Regions from separate parts of the Homo sapiens genome. Here regions 2, 3 and 4 are each linked to region 1. Evidence: promoter capture Hi-C in 16 types of primary human blood cells and fetal thymus (Javierre and others, 2016). All regions are on one chromosome and are shown on one strand. Each heading gives the region's core, a stretch centred on a gene start or on the middle of the fragment in contact. The rest is flanking DNA. Distances are from core to core; before and after follow the strand shown.

Region 1 (3,646 bases), core at 639-3,138:
CAAGGGGTTGTCACAGCTTATAAGTGAGAAGGCAATGCAACTCCTGGCTCCATCACTTACCAGCTGGGAGACTTCGGGCAAGTTATTTAACCTCCCTGACCCTTGGTTTCCTCATCAGTAAAATGGGGATAATGGCACATACTTCATATGATTGATGTGAGAATTAGAGATCATTTACGATATATAATGATGATCACATAGTAGGTGACCAATTAAAAAGAAACATATTCTTATCAAACTAAGATCCATGTTTCTCTACACAGTTCTTTCTAATTCTAATTCTCTATACAGTTTTTCCTAATACAGGGGGAAATGTACTGAAGTGATCCAACCTCCATCTCCTGGGTTCAAGCAATTCTCCTGCCTTAGCCTCCCATGTAGCTGGGAATACAGGCACGTGCCACCATAACGGGCTAATTTTTGTATTTGTAGTAGAGACGGGGTTTCACCATCTCTGGTCTTAAACTCCTCCACTGAGGCTGGTCTTGAACTCCTGACCTCAGGTGATCCACCCCCCTCAGACTCCCAAAGTGCTGGGATTACAGGTATGAGCCACTGCGCCCAGCTGTGATTCAATTTAGCATCACCAATCTGACATTTTATGCTTCCTGGGGTGATATAATAAGAGTTACACAGCATATTTTATGAAGTATTCTGTCCCAACAATGTTTAATTTAAACCTAATCCAGCCTCTAGCCCAGTGCTGTCCAACAGAATTTTATGTGAAAATAAACAATAAATAAAATAAAAATAAATAATAAAGAAGTGTTCTTTATATGCACTGTCTAATAAGGTAGGCACTACTTACAGGTAGCTGCTGAGGACTCAAAATGTGGATAGTGCAACTGAATAACTAGATTTTTAACTTATTTAGTTTTTACTAACTTAAATTTAAGTAGCCACATCTGCCTATTGTCTACCAAATTGGACATCCCAGCTCAAGATTTACTTTCTAATTTATAGAAAATACAAGGGCTAGAGCCACAAATTAAATTATGTAAAATGTAGTTTTAAAATCCTTAGGACAGTTAGGAAAATTGAATCTGAGATGAATAGTAAGTGGTGCTTTGGAATTATTGTTAATTTTCCTGAATAAGAAAATAGTACTCTCCTTATTCTTAAGAAATTCCTGCTGATGTATTTAAGGGTGACATGCCATGCTTTCTGCCACTCAAATAATTGGGCAACTGTGAAAGCAAATATGGTATAATGTTAACTGTTGAATCGGGGTAAACAGGTGGAGCATCAATGCATGTGTGTTGTATTATTCCAATTTTCCTCAATATTTGAAAGCTTTCATCATAAAAAAGATAAAAGACAAATATTTAATAATCTGCTGACTGTTCCCATGGTAGGAAAAGTGAGATGGTTTTCAGCTGCCAACTGAAAAATCTGGAGATGGGGAAATCCAGATTTGTGTTTCAGGAGCACTTTAGCCACAGCTGTGATGGAAATGAGAGATGGTATTTATTAATGCCTCAGCCTTTCCTGAAACCCCTCTCCCCACATCACACTTAACACACAGGTCTCCTCCTCCCAGTTTCTCCCAGCACCTGGCCTCCCTTCTCTTCCCCTCGCCAGGCTCTACTCCTCCTTCTCGTCCTCTCCTCTGCCTTCCCCTTCCCTCCCCAATGCCTGCAGATGAAGGAATGCCCTGCTGGCAAGACACTTTGAAGATGAAACATGCTGACTCCCCCAGAGCCCAAGACTGACATCTTTTACAAAGAAGAGGGTGCAGGCCACTCCCCCATTAAAGCACATTCTGGAGAGGCGTTAGACCCGGCTAACCACCCAAGCCCATAAAGCGCAAATTGCCCCAACATCATCTTCACAGCCAAGCCCCTTCAGAATCTGCGCATAAATAGGGCTGCGGTGCCCTGAGGAGCACATTGGAGTTTCCATCAGGACTCCAGGTCCCCTATCCTGTCCTCTGCAACCCAAACGTCCAGGAGGATCATGACCTGCGGATCAGGATTTGGTGGGCGCGCCTTCAGCTGCATCTCGGCCTGCGGGCCGCGGCCCGGCCGCTGCTGCATCACCGCCGCCCCCTACCGTGGCATCTCCTGCTACCGCGGCCTCACCGGGGGCTTCGGCAGCCACAGCGTGTGCGGAGGCTTTCGGGCCGGCTCCTGCGGACGCAGCTTCGGCTACCGCTCCGGGGGCGTGTGCGGGCCCAGTCCCCCATGCATCACCACCGTGTCGGTCAACGAGAGCCTCCTCACGCCCCTCAACCTGGAGATCGACCCCAACGCGCAGTGCGTGAAGCAGGAGGAGAAGGAGCAGATCAAGTCCCTCAACAGCAGGTTCGCGGCCTTCATCGACAAGGTGGGTGTCCTGGATCACACCCTTCCTGAACCCCCACCACCTACACAGCCAGGGCCGGGCACTAAGGATGGAGTCAGAGGCACAAAGACCTCTGCCTGCCTGAGATCCCAGTCTGATGGGCGAGGCACACAGACACACAGACAGACAGACACATGCACAGACACACACACACAGGCACTCAAGATGCAGACTCAGCTGACAGTTCAGATAGAGGGAGCTTGTGAAGGAAAAGTGTGGCCAGGCTGCTCTGGGGCACAAGCTAGACATCAGGGAGTTGGGGGAGGGGGGCATGTGACCACTGCTGCTGAACTCAGAGGGGTTTGGGCAGCCCCAGGGTGAGAGAGTAGGGTGCACTGACTTCCAGATGACACAGGGGAAGGGCTGGGACAGCTGAGCTCCCTTCCAGATGGCCTGTGACACCCTCTTCCTGGCACCATCCCCAGAAACCTCATCTGTGATCTGAACCTGAGTACTCTGCCTGTGTGGGTTGCTGATCACCTAGTTTCATAGTGAGGGACTGAGCCTCCACTTCTGTTCATCTGCTTGGGTTGGGGGGGGGGGGTCACTCAACTCCCCAGGGAGCAGGCACTGACACCACCCAGCCCTTGCTCCACTCCTGAGTGGGAAATCTAGACACAGATCATGACCAGGAAATCCAGAAATTGTCTGTCTCCCACTGCCCACCTCTACTCAATCTCAGATAAGCTCCAGATTTGGGGGTTCCCATTAAAGCACCTCCCCTGCGAGCCCCCAGAGCTGGCTTTGGGGCACCAGACACCATCTGCCCCACCTTCCCACACCGAATGGCAGGTGCGCTTCCTGGAGCAGCAGAACAAACTGCTGGAGACAAAGCTGCAGTTCTACCAGAACCGCGAGTGTTGCCAGAGCAACCTGGAGCCCCTGTTTGAGGGCTACATCGAGACTCTGCGGCGGGAGGCCGAGTGCGTGGAGGCCGACAGCGGGAGGCTGGCCTCAGAGCTTAACCACGTGCAGGAGGTGCTGGAGGGCTACAAGAAGAAGTGAGTGCGGGCAAGAGGGATGCTGGGCACAGGAATGGGGTTTAGGTTAAATACACTGGATTAGACAATAAGAACTCCCAGGTAGGGTGAGTGGCCATGACCACTAGATTGACCGAGGGTGGCGGGGTCTTTTCCTTTGTGGAATCTTTGCCCAGACACCTGTGTAAGAGGAGGGCTGTGACTCCCATGACCTGTCTCTGTCCCACTTCAGCCTTCTCTCCCTGAACCACATCACCCAGCAGCTCTCCCCTGCGCTGGGTGGGGAGGAAGCCTCTGCAGGGTCCAGGCCTTCTCTCCTGACC
Region 2 (3,646 bases), core at 428-2,927, 690 kb before region 1:
TATCTATTTATTATTTATTTATATATTTTTTAGAGGTGGTCTTGCTCTGTTGCCCAGGCTGGTCTCAAACTTCTGGGCTCAAGAGATTCTCCCACCTCAGTCTCCCAAGTAGCTGGGACCACTGGGCCTGGCACACATTTATTTTTATTTTTATTTATTTATTTTTTTGAGATGGAGTCTTGCTCTGTCACCCAGGCTGGAGAGTAGTGGCACCATCTTGGTTCACTGCACCCTCTGCCTCTTGGGTTCAAGTGATTCTCCTGCCTCAGCCTCCTGAGTAGCTGGGACTATGGGCACCTGCCACCATGCCCGGCTAATTTTTTTTTTTTTTTTGGTAGAGATGGGGTTTTGCCACATTGGCCAGGCTGGTTTTGAACTCCTGACCTCAGGTGATCCGCCCACTTTGGCTGGGATTACAGGTGTGAGCCACCAAGCCCGGCTGAGATTTATTTTTAAAGAAGACCATGTTGGCTGGTGTGTGGAGGAAGGCTGAGTGGTTACTGGTGGCCATGAGAAGACTTTCTGTTAGGAAGATGTTGCAGTGATAGTACAGAGGACAGATGCCTACAGCCTGGATGTGGGGTGTGGATGGGGAGAAAGGAATAGATTTGGACTTACTGTGGAAGTAGGGTTATTAATTTATTAGATCCATAGGGTAGACCAAGAGAGAAGGAGGTGTCAAATATGATTCCCAGGTTTCTGGCACAAGCAATTAGATGGATGGTGTGTCATTTACTAAGATGAACAAGAATTATGAAGCTGGTGGGAGCTAAGATCAATAATCCAGTTTTGAACAGGTTAAATTTGAGATGCCTAAGAGTCATCTAAAAAGAGGCATTAAGTAGAATATTCCATAGGCTGCTCTGGAGCTCACAAGAAAGGTCTGGTTGGACATCACAATCTGGAAGTCTTTGGTCTATAGAAGATGCAATTAAAACCAGGGCAAGGTATGAGATGACTCAAGAAAATAGTCCCTATTAATAAGAGAATAGGGGCCAGGACCCAGCCCTGAGGAACATCAACTTTATATCAGGTCAATTTATAGATCAGAAACATCAAGTTACAGACCATGTCAAGGAGGGTGAGTGGGGAAAAGGGACCGAGAAACTATAACTAGAGAAAAGCCTGGCACGAGGTGTCTGGGAGACTAGGAAGGAGAGTGTTTCAAGAAGGAGGGAGAGGCTGGGTGCTGTGGCTCATGCCTGTAATCCCAGCACTTTGGGAGGCCGAGGCAGGTGGATCACCTGAGGTCAGGAGTTCGAGACCAGCCTGGCTAACATGGTGAAACCCTGTCTCTACTAAAAATACAAAAAATTAGCCAGGTGTGGTGGCACACGCCTATAATCCCAGCTACTTGGAAGGCTGAGGCAAGAGAATCGCTTGAACCTGGGAGATGGAGGTTGCAGTGAGCCAAGATCATGCCACTGGACTCCAGCTTGGGCAACAAGAGTGAAACTCCATCTCAAAAAAAAAAAAAAAAAAAAAAGAAGGAGGGAGCATGCAGCTGCTGGAAGCTAAGTGGTCAAGGAACAAAAGGAATGTCAAGTGTCCATCGATTTCAACAACATGGAGGTCTCTGGGAACCTTGGCTAGTGCAGCTTCTGAGGAGCCATACGAGCTGAGCCAGCCTGGAGGGGCTGAAGAGTGAACTGGGTGAGGAAGGGGAAAGCCTGTGTGTAGACCTCTTTTGAGAATAATGTAAGGCCAGATGCAGTGACTCAAGCCTGTAACCCCAGCACTTTGGGAAGCCGAGGCAAGTGGATCACCTGAGGTCAGGAGTTTGAGACCAGCCTGACCAACATGATAAAACCCCATCTCCACTAAAAATACAAAATTAGCCAGGTGTGGTGGCGCATGCCTATAATCCCAGCTACTTGGGAGGCAGAGGCAGGAGAATCACTTGAACCCTGGAAGTGGAGGTTGCAGTGAGCCGAGATCGCGCCACTGCACTCCAGCCTGGGCAACAAGAGCAAAACTCTGTCTCAAACAACAACAACAACAACAACAACAACAACAACAAAACAACAACAAAACGAGAGAGAATGATGTAAGATGCTTAGCTATGAGAAGGAACAGAGAGCTGGCCAGGCGCAGTGGCTCACGCCTGTAATCCCAGCACTTTGGAAGGCTGAGGCGGGTGGATCACCTGAGGTCAGGAGTTCGAGACCAGCCTGGCCAATGTGGTGAAACACCATCTCTAGTAAAAATACAAAAATTAGCTGGGTGTGGTGGTGGGCACCTGTAATCCCAGCTACTCGTGAGGCTGAGGTAGGAGAATCACTTGAACCTGGGAGGCAGAGGCTGCAGTGAGCTGAGATCACACCATTGCACTCCTGCCTGGGTGACAGAGTGAGATTCCGTCTCAAAAAAAAAAAAAAAAAAAAAAGAGAGAAGGAACAGAGAGCTGCAAGGGAAGGTGGTCCAGGGAGCTTGTTTTCAGGTGGGCAACCCTGGAATTGTTGAGGGAGAGAAGAGAGAAGAGAGGGGGAGAAATCTCATGTGGGGGGGAGGGGAAAGGGTCAGCGGGTGGTATGAAGAGGGACTGGGTTCCAGACCTCTGCCCATGCTTTTTCCTCTACCTGTGATGCCCTTTCTGACCTCACTGCCTGCTCACCCTACAAGACAAGACTTTGTCTCTACCCACTCACAGCATGTTTAATAGCGGATCCTGGCTCTTACCATATGCTACTGAAGACAGAGACTATGACAGAAGTATAAGTCCCCCAGCACTGTGTCTGACACACATTTGGAGGACAGCCCGGGGCAGGGTGGGAGGTGAACGGTGAAGTGTCAGCACCCTGCCTGGACATTATGGTGGTGGAGTGAGGGCGATGTTTGAGGGGGTGAATGGCAGACTGACTGAGAGAATCTCAGCTGTTCCTCTCAGTGGCTCTTTCTAATACTTTTTAATTTTGTTTGTTTGTTTGTTTGTTTGTTTCCTGCAGGAGTGGAGCCCTGACAGTTCCCAGACCCTCTCACATACTCTCTCAAGGAATCCAGCTTAATGGATCAGCCCACTGTAGACAAAAAAACAGAAAACAGAAAATGGATCCAGAACCCAGACTCCCATCAGTCCCACCACATAGCCAGCAGGAGGTCAGGGGTGAGGGGGGCAGGCTGGGGTTTAGTGGGGGCCTGCATTCCTTTCTCTCTGCACGGCGGCAGGGCTTCTCAAGTATTCTCTAATTAAGATGAGAAGCAGAAGCAGGGGCTCTCTGGAATGTAAACAGCAGATAAGATCAGGCACCCTCCTCCCTGGGAAACTTCCATTTTCCTTCTTTTAGGATGGACACTGCATTCTTTCCCCGCTGCAGTCTTTGGCTCCCCAGTTCTTTCCATCCCCCCTCCCTCAGCCCTTGTCTCTGTCTTTGAGTCTCTGTCTGCATCCCTTATGGCTCCCTCATCTGGTACAGGGCTTGTGCATTGGAACCCAGAGGGGAACCTCTCATTTCATCAGTATATGGACATCTCCCAGGTTCAGGCTGGGAGTTTTTGACCCTTGCTATGGGCTTCTCTCTCCTGTCTCTTCTAGGAGGACAGAGCAGGCTCCATCATTGTACCAAGGCAATGTTCATTCAAATAAACAATGCCAGCCAACATGTGGGGCCAGGCACGCCAAGTACTAAAGGGACCATCTTGATGAGTG
Region 3 (3,646 bases), core at 414-2,913, 630 kb before region 1:
GCTCAGTGTTCTCCACTCTAGAATGCAGATAATGCTTATTTTATAGTTTCTGTAAGAATTAAAAGCTTTACCACCTTAAGGAAACTGCTAGGCCATGGGGGAATAGCTGAACCCATGCCCAGCTCTGGGAGATCCGGCCACAGCTGGGGATGCACAATCAGAGGCTCCAGGCTGGAGGGCTGGAGGGAGAAGCCTGGGAGGAATAGTCCATCTGGGAGGGCTTCCTGAAGGAAGTCCTTGGGGGTAGAGCCAGGCTAGAGGGACACAAAGAGAGAGGAAGGAGGGGCCCTGGGCCTGTGCACTGCATAAGTGAAGAGGGAGTTTGTGCAGGAGCTGGCAGTCAAGTAGGATAGGGTCAGGCCATGGGGGCCTGGGGGTGGAGGTTTAGTGTGGTGACATGTGGGAGCCATCGAAGCCATAGAACTGTGGGTCCAGGAGGAGGACTAGGGAGTTTGACTTTTGCAGCTGGACAATTGTGAGCAAGAAGTACTGGTCCTCTCCCTCAGAGAGGCTTTCCCTCCTTTGCCTTCCATGTTCTGGAGGCTGCTGTTGCTACTTAAGCTTCTCTTAATGTTCCCTGGATGGTCACCCAGGAAACTTGGGGAGGCAAGGAAGGAGAGAGAAGGTAGAATGTGGCCTTGGGGAATAGATGGCCTCTGCCTGGAGTTCTGTAGGGAATGCATAAACACACAATTAGTTGTGTTGCCATGGGAACTTGACTAACAGGTCCCTGAGGCTAAGCTGGCCTGGGCTGGCCTGGGCTTAGCCCATTCCCACCATCCAGGTCAACAGATTTTCCTAAAGGCCTATGAATGGGTCATTGTATCTGAGTTGGGGTTATCTTAGTCCTTAGAGACCAGGGAATGGGGTGGGGGCAGGTTGGTTACAGAGTGGTGGGTAGCAGGTCTTTTCTTTAGCTGAGCTGCGTGCTCTCTAGAGTCTCTCTGTCTCATTTTCTGTCTTACAGACATATATGCACACATGCAGGGTCTTGCTATGTCGCTGGTTGTCCAGGCTGGTCTTGAACTCCTGGCCTCAAGTGATCTTCCCTTGGCCTTCCAAAGTACTGGGATTACAGGTGTGAGCCACTGTGCCTGGCTGGGCACAGGCTTACCTGGCAGGCTGGTTCAGCCATTTGTGAATTCGTTCATCATATACTGGTGGAGTGCCTGTTAGATGTCTTTCTAATGCTGTGGATGTGACGGTCAACAACATAGTCAAGGTCTCTGCCCTCATGGGGCTGTCCATTTTTAATTTTTTTTCAGATGGAGTTTCGCTCTTGTTGCCCAGGCTGGAGTGCAATGGCACAATCTCAGCTCACCCCAACCTCTGCCCCCTGGGTTCAATCAATTCGCCTGCCTCAGCCTCTTAAGTAGCTGGGATTACAGGCATGTGCCACCATGCCTGGCTAATTTTGTATTTTTAGTAGAGATGGGGTTTCTCCATGTTGGTCAGGCTGGTCTCAAACTCTTGACCTCAGGTGATCTGCCTGCCTTGGCCTCCCAAAGTGCTGGGATTACAGGCGTGAGCCACCGTGCCTGGGCTGGGGCTGTCCATTTTGATGGGGAGAGGTCCCCCAAGTCTGCCAGAATCCCTACTGTAGGAGAGGTAGTACAGATGCTCAATAAATAAATGTAATATAGCTCTTTTGGATTGCTAAATAAAATAATAAACATGTTTTGAATCCTCCCTTTTGAGTTATTGACATTATTACATCTCTTAATGGACATAATTGGATCCTGACTATAAAACAGCATAATTGAAAAGAGAATGTTCAAGCTCTAAAATTACTCCAGACTTGGGTTCAATTCCTGTCTCTGTCACACTAACCAAAGGACCTTGGGCTTTAGTTTCCTTGTCTGTAAAATGAGAACAATGTTACCTTCCTCATGGATTAGTTTAGGATTATAAATAATAGGTGCGGTGGCTCACGCCTGTAATCCCAGCACCTTGGGAGGCCAAGGCAGGCAGATCCCCTGAGGTCAGGAGTTCAAGACTAGCCTGGCCTACATGGTGAAACCCTGTCTCACTAAAAATACTAAAATTATCCGGGCATGGTGGTGCAGGTCTTTAGTCCCAGCTACTTGGGAGGCTGAGGCAGGAGAATAGCTTGAGAACCCAGGAGGTGGAGGTTGCAGTGAGTCAAGATCGTGCCACTGCACTCCAGCCTGGGCAACAGAGCAAGACTCCATCTCAAAATAAAATAGACTAAAATAAAATAAAATAATATATAATATATGTAAGAGATCTGACACTTTGACACTTGGTAGGAACCCTGAAAATGAAAGCCATGGCTGGGCATGGTGGCTCACACCTGTAATCCCAGCACTTTGGGAGGCTGAGGCGAGCAGATCACTTGGGGCCAGCAGTTTGGGACCAGCCTGGTCAACATGGTGAAACCCTGTCTCTACTAAAAATACAAAAACTTAGCAGAGAGTGGTGGTACATGCCTGTAGTCCCAGCTACTTGGGAGGCTGAGACAGGAGAATTGCTTGAACCCGGGAAGCGAAGGTTGCAGTGAGCTGAGGTAGTGCCACTACATGCACTCCAGACTGGGTGACAGAGTGAGACTCTGTCTCAAAAACAAAAAAACAAAAAAGAAACCCATCATGATCACCATGGTTCCCAATCCTAATCACTACCACTGCCACCATCATTGGCAGGGAAAGGAGCCCTGGGTTGAGAGTTGGGGAAAGCAAGTGGGCGTCAGTAGGCAGGGCTCTGTTTGCATGGCTAGCTCCCTAGGAATTGGATTTGCAAGCTTCTGTTTTGCATAATGGCGGATTTTTACATGCTATTTCTTTATTACTATCCTATAAGCTCCTCCTTATAGACCCAATTGCCACCTCCTAGTTACCCTCCACCCTGCTGAGCTAGCACTTTCTTCCACTTGACCACCTACCCTGGGAAGAGGCAGCAGACACTGTTCTGTTCTGCAAGGAGGTTATTTCATGCAGGGAAACACAAGGCTTAAACTCTCACAAGGCAAATGTATCAAAGTGATGTGAACACAAGTTCCATGGGGGAGGGTGGTCTGAAGGTGGTGAGGGAATGGGGGAAATTGTGTGGAGAAAGGCTTTGGGAAAGGCTGGGGGACAAGCAGGGAGGGTTGGTGAGAGTCAAGCTAACATGTCTTGAAAACCTGCTATTTTAGGCACTGTTCCTTACCTGATGATCATGTCAGTCTTCTGAGGTAGTTGTTACTATCTGCATTTTCAGCTGGTGAAGTAACTCTTAACACCATTAGGAAGTGGCTGCGAAATTCTTCTGGTTGCACCCTCTGTCCTTTGGGTTTTGGTCACACATGGCTTTGGGGCAGCAGAACATGCATGGGCAGGCTCGGGGCAGCTGCACCTGCGCGGCGTCTGTCTGGCGGGGCTCAGATGCCAGTTCTTCCCTTCACAGCTGTGTGAATGTAGGCACTTTTCCATCTCGGCCTGGTGGGATCTTTATGAATTTAAATGAGGTGATGCATGCAGCGCATACAGTAGGCCTGCATGTTTCTGAGGCTCCAACAACCCAGCTGATACAGTAGAGGCCCCTTGACCTTCTGCCTGAACCCTCCTCATGAACTTCCCAGTTGACGCAGACTCTGTTTTGTTTCTTCTTCTTCTTCTTCTTCTTCTTCTTCTTCTTCTTCTTCTTC
Region 4 (3,646 bases), core at 451-2,950, 600 kb before region 1:
GATTACAGGTGTGAGCCACCACATCCGGCCTTTATACATAATTCAAAAGTACAAGAGGACCCTTCCCCAGTCAGCCAGTTTCTGTTCCAGAGGGCAATTAATGCTACCAGTTTCCTGTGATTCATTCCAAGTAGAAGTTATTATATATAGTTACATAGGGACATACATGCATACATTTCTATCTATCCTTCATGAAGGGTATTGTACTATATGTGTTGTCACATGCCTTGCTTTAACATTCACCCAATACCTGTTCCTTCCATATCAGTATACAAGTTGCTTCTCCACTCTTTTTCACAGCTGCATAATATTCCACTTTGGGATGTGCCACAATTTACTTAACCAGTCCTCTATTGGTATTTGCTATGACAATGGTGAGGATATCTTAATAATTCCTACAAGTGGAATTGCTGAAGCAAAATGTGTGCACATTTAAATTTTAGTAGACTTTTTGTTTTTAAAGCTTGATTTCCTATGGGACTGAATTTTAGTTTTTTAGAAAATTTACATGTGTAGAAGAAGGTTCCTGTTTGACTATTCCAGATGAGCCAGCCATTATCCCCCACTTCCCTCCACCCTGCCTTTCCCGACCCAACCACCCAGGATTAAAATGATGAGTCTTCCAAGCATTTGTGGACTCTTCTGAAGATATTTTAATTCCAAGGTTTTGCTCTGCCTGCCCGCTGATCTGGGCTAAGGTGGTCTAGGAGCTCCCCTGTAGTAGGGGGATCTGAAGGTGGGCTAAGGACCGAGGGCCAGGCTGACTGGAGTGTAAGGTGGTGGGAATGGAGGAGTGAATGTTAAAGCAAGGCATGTGACAATGCGGACAGTACATACCCTTCATGAAGGATAGATAGAAATGTGTGCATGCATGTCCCTACGTAATTATATATCATAGATTCTACCTGTTGGGAAAGGAAGAGGAAGCACCACTGCAAGGAAAGGAAGGCAGGGAAGGATACCAGCATGGTGGGTGGCCCCCTAGTTCACTCTCCGCGCTGCCCTTTTACACATTGTGGTGGGCATAGTTGCTTTGTCTAGCCAGGACCCCTTCCCCCTTCTTCTAGTAATGCAAAGCTCCCCCACCTCCACTCCTGCCACGCCCCACTTCTTTTCAGGAACTGTTCCTCCTAAGATCACAGGACCTCTGTCCAGGCACACAGGGTTCACAATGGGCCAGCCTTGGCCAATCACAAGTCCCTTTGTTTCCTCCTTGCTGAGGCATATTGTACATACAATAAAATGCAAAATGTGCTTTAATGGGGAATGTACAACCTGATGAGTTTTTTTATTTTTATTTTTATTTATTTTTTTTGAGATGGAGTTTCACTCTTGTTGCCCAGGCTGAAGTGCAATGGCACGATCTCGGCTCACTGCAACCTCCGCTGCCCAGGTTCAAGCGATTCTCCCGCCTCAGCCTCCTGAGTAGCTGGGACTACAGGCATGCGCCACCACGCCGGGCTAATTTTGTATTTTTAGTAGAGACGGGGTTTCTCCGTGTTGGTCAGGCAACTCCCGACCTCAGGTGATCCACCCGCCTCAGCCTCCCAAAGTGCTGGGATTACAGGCGTGAGCCACCGTGCCCGGCGCCTGATGAGTTTTAACTTATGTTCACACCTGTAATGTAGAACATTTCCTATATCACAGAAGGTTCACTTGGGCCCCTTGCCAGAGTGCACTTTTTTTTAGTAGACTTATTTTTTAAGAACAGTTTTAGCTAGGCGCTGTGGCTCATGCCTGTAATCCCAGCACTTTGGGAGGCTGAGGCGGGTGGATCACGAGGTCAGGAGATCGAGACCATCCTGGCTAACATGGTGAAACCCCGTCTCTACTAAAAAATACAAAAAAATTATCTGGGTGTGGTGGCAGGCGCCTGTAGTCCCAGCTACTCGAGAGGCTGAGGCAGGAGAATGGTGTGAACCCAGGAGGCAGAGCTTGCAGTGAACTGAGATCATGCCACTGCACTCCAGCCTGGGCGACAGAGAAAGACTCCGTCTCAAAAAAAAAAAAAAAAAAAAAAAAGAAAAAAAGAGCAATTTTAGGTTCATAGCAAAATCGAGCAGGAGGTAGAGGGTTCTCATACACATTCTGCCCCTACACCTGCATCCCACACCAGAGGGCTACATTTGTTACAACATCATCAACATCCCACCTCAGAGGGATACATTTGTTACGATTGATGAACCTACATTGACACATCATTATTACCCACAGTCCATAGTTCACATTAGAGTTAACTCTTAGTGTGGACATTCTGTGGGGGCCATGTAGCCACCATTACAGTACCATACAGAATAGTTCACTGCCCCCAAAATCAGAGTGCATTCTCAAAAATATGAATCAGATTCAGTTACTTCCTTATATGGAAAACCCTTTATTTTTATTTTATTTTTTTCTTTTCTTTCTTTATTTTTTATTATACTTTAAGTTCTAGGGTACATGTGCACAACATGCAGGTTTGTTACATATGTATACATGTGCCATGTTGGTGTGCTGCACCCGTTAACTCGTTAACTCTTCATTTACATTAGGTATATCTCCTAATGCTATCCCTCCCCTCTACCCCCACCCCACGACAGGCCCTGGTGTGTGATGTTCCCCACCCTGTGTCTAAGTGTTCTCATTGTTCAATTCCCACCTATGAGTGAGAACATGCGGTGTTTGGTTTTCTGCCCTTGCAATAGTTTGCTCAGAATGATGGGAAAACCCTTTACTTTTGACACCCAGAATAAAGCCCTAAATCTTGACTTGGCCCACAGGCTGTGCCTACTCTTCCTCCTCTGAGGCCTCATCCTGGCCACTCTGTCCCTTGCTCTCTGATGCAGTGGTGCAGGCTTTTCAGGGCATAGCCTACATGGAATTTGCTTCTGCTCAGGGCATTGCATGGCTGGCCCCCTGCTTGGAACACCCTGCCTTTCCTAGTCACTCCCAAGCTTTCCGCTCAAACGCAGCTTCCCCAAGAAAGTCTTCTGACACCACAAGACAAGACAAAAAGTTTTATGACACCACAAGACAAGAAAGTCTTCTAGACACCACAAACTGAGTGGCGTGTTTCTATGATAAGTTCCCAAGGCACCCTGTATTTTCTCCTTGTAAATTACAGTCACTCATTCATCTGCAGAGGTATTTTATTAATATCAGCCTTTCCCCATACACTGTAAGCTCCATGAGGGCAGGGACACACCATATCTGCTTGGTTCTCCACTGATTCTTCAGTGTTTAGCAGAGTGCCAGGCACATAGTAGGTGGTCAATAAAAATTATCAAATAAAAAGGAATGAACCATTTCCATATTGATAGCCATCTTTTTTATTTTTTTGAGACAAAGTCTCTCTCTGTCGCCCAAGCTGGAGTGCAATGGCATGATCTCGGCTCACTGCAACCTTCACCTCCTGGGTTCAAGCGATTCTCCTGCCTCAGCCTCCTGAGCAGCTGGGGCTACAGGCACATGCCACCATGCCTGGCTAAGTTTTGTATTTTTAGTAGAGACGGGGTTTCATTATTTTGGCCAGGCTGGTCTTGAACTCCTGACCTCATGATCAACTCACCTTGGCCTCCCAAAGTGTTGAGAGTACAGGAGTGAGCTACCGAGCCTGGCCCAAACAATTTGGGAGTTTGATAAGTTTTTTTTTTTTTTTTTTGAGACA

The links. Contacts are between HindIII fragments. The CHiCAGO score rates a contact against its expected background, and 5 or more counts as called.
Region 2: a fragment that was not itself captured here is called in contact with the fragment with the promoter of KRT81 in region 1 in 1 of 17 cell types (M0 macrophages); the score reaches 5.4 in M0 macrophages.
Region 3: a contact is called between a fragment that was not itself captured here and the fragment with the promoter of KRT81 in region 1, in 2 of 17 cell types (M2 macrophages and M1 macrophages). The highest score is 6.0, in M2 macrophages.
Region 4: a fragment that was not itself captured here is called in contact with the fragment with the promoter of KRT81 in region 1 in 4 of 17 cell types (M2 macrophages, M1 macrophages, total CD4 T cells and 1 more); the score reaches 7.2 in M2 macrophages.

The regions. Positions count from the first base shown.
Region 1 is chr12:52,289,776-52,293,421 of GRCh38, reverse strand. KRT81 (keratin 81) reads left to right here and starts at 1,888. Exons shown (of 9, transcript NM_002281.4): 1 at 1,888-2,325; 2 at 3,136-3,344. The coding sequence starts at 1,957. The region is part of intron 2 of KRT86 (keratin 86); the gene reads right to left. The HindIII fragment of the contact is 6,626 bases long and covers 1,296-3,646 here.
Region 2 is chr12:52,976,490-52,980,135 of GRCh38, reverse strand. No RefSeq gene overlaps it. Among named protein-coding and RNA genes, the nearest start is that of EIF4B, 28 kb to the left of the region's middle. The HindIII fragment of the contact is 5,548 bases long and covers 1-3,646 here.
Region 3 is chr12:52,918,214-52,921,859 of GRCh38, reverse strand. It overlaps a transcript of KRT8 not described here. Among named protein-coding and RNA genes, the nearest start is that of KRT8, 15 kb to the right of the region's middle. RefSeq lists enhancers at 2,820-3,319, 3,320-3,646. The HindIII fragment of the contact is 2,200 bases long and covers 564-2,763 here.
Region 4 is chr12:52,889,818-52,893,463 of GRCh38, reverse strand. No RefSeq gene overlaps it. Among named protein-coding and RNA genes, the nearest start is that of MIR9898, 7.3 kb to the left of the region's middle. The HindIII fragment of the contact is 2,470 bases long and covers 466-2,935 here.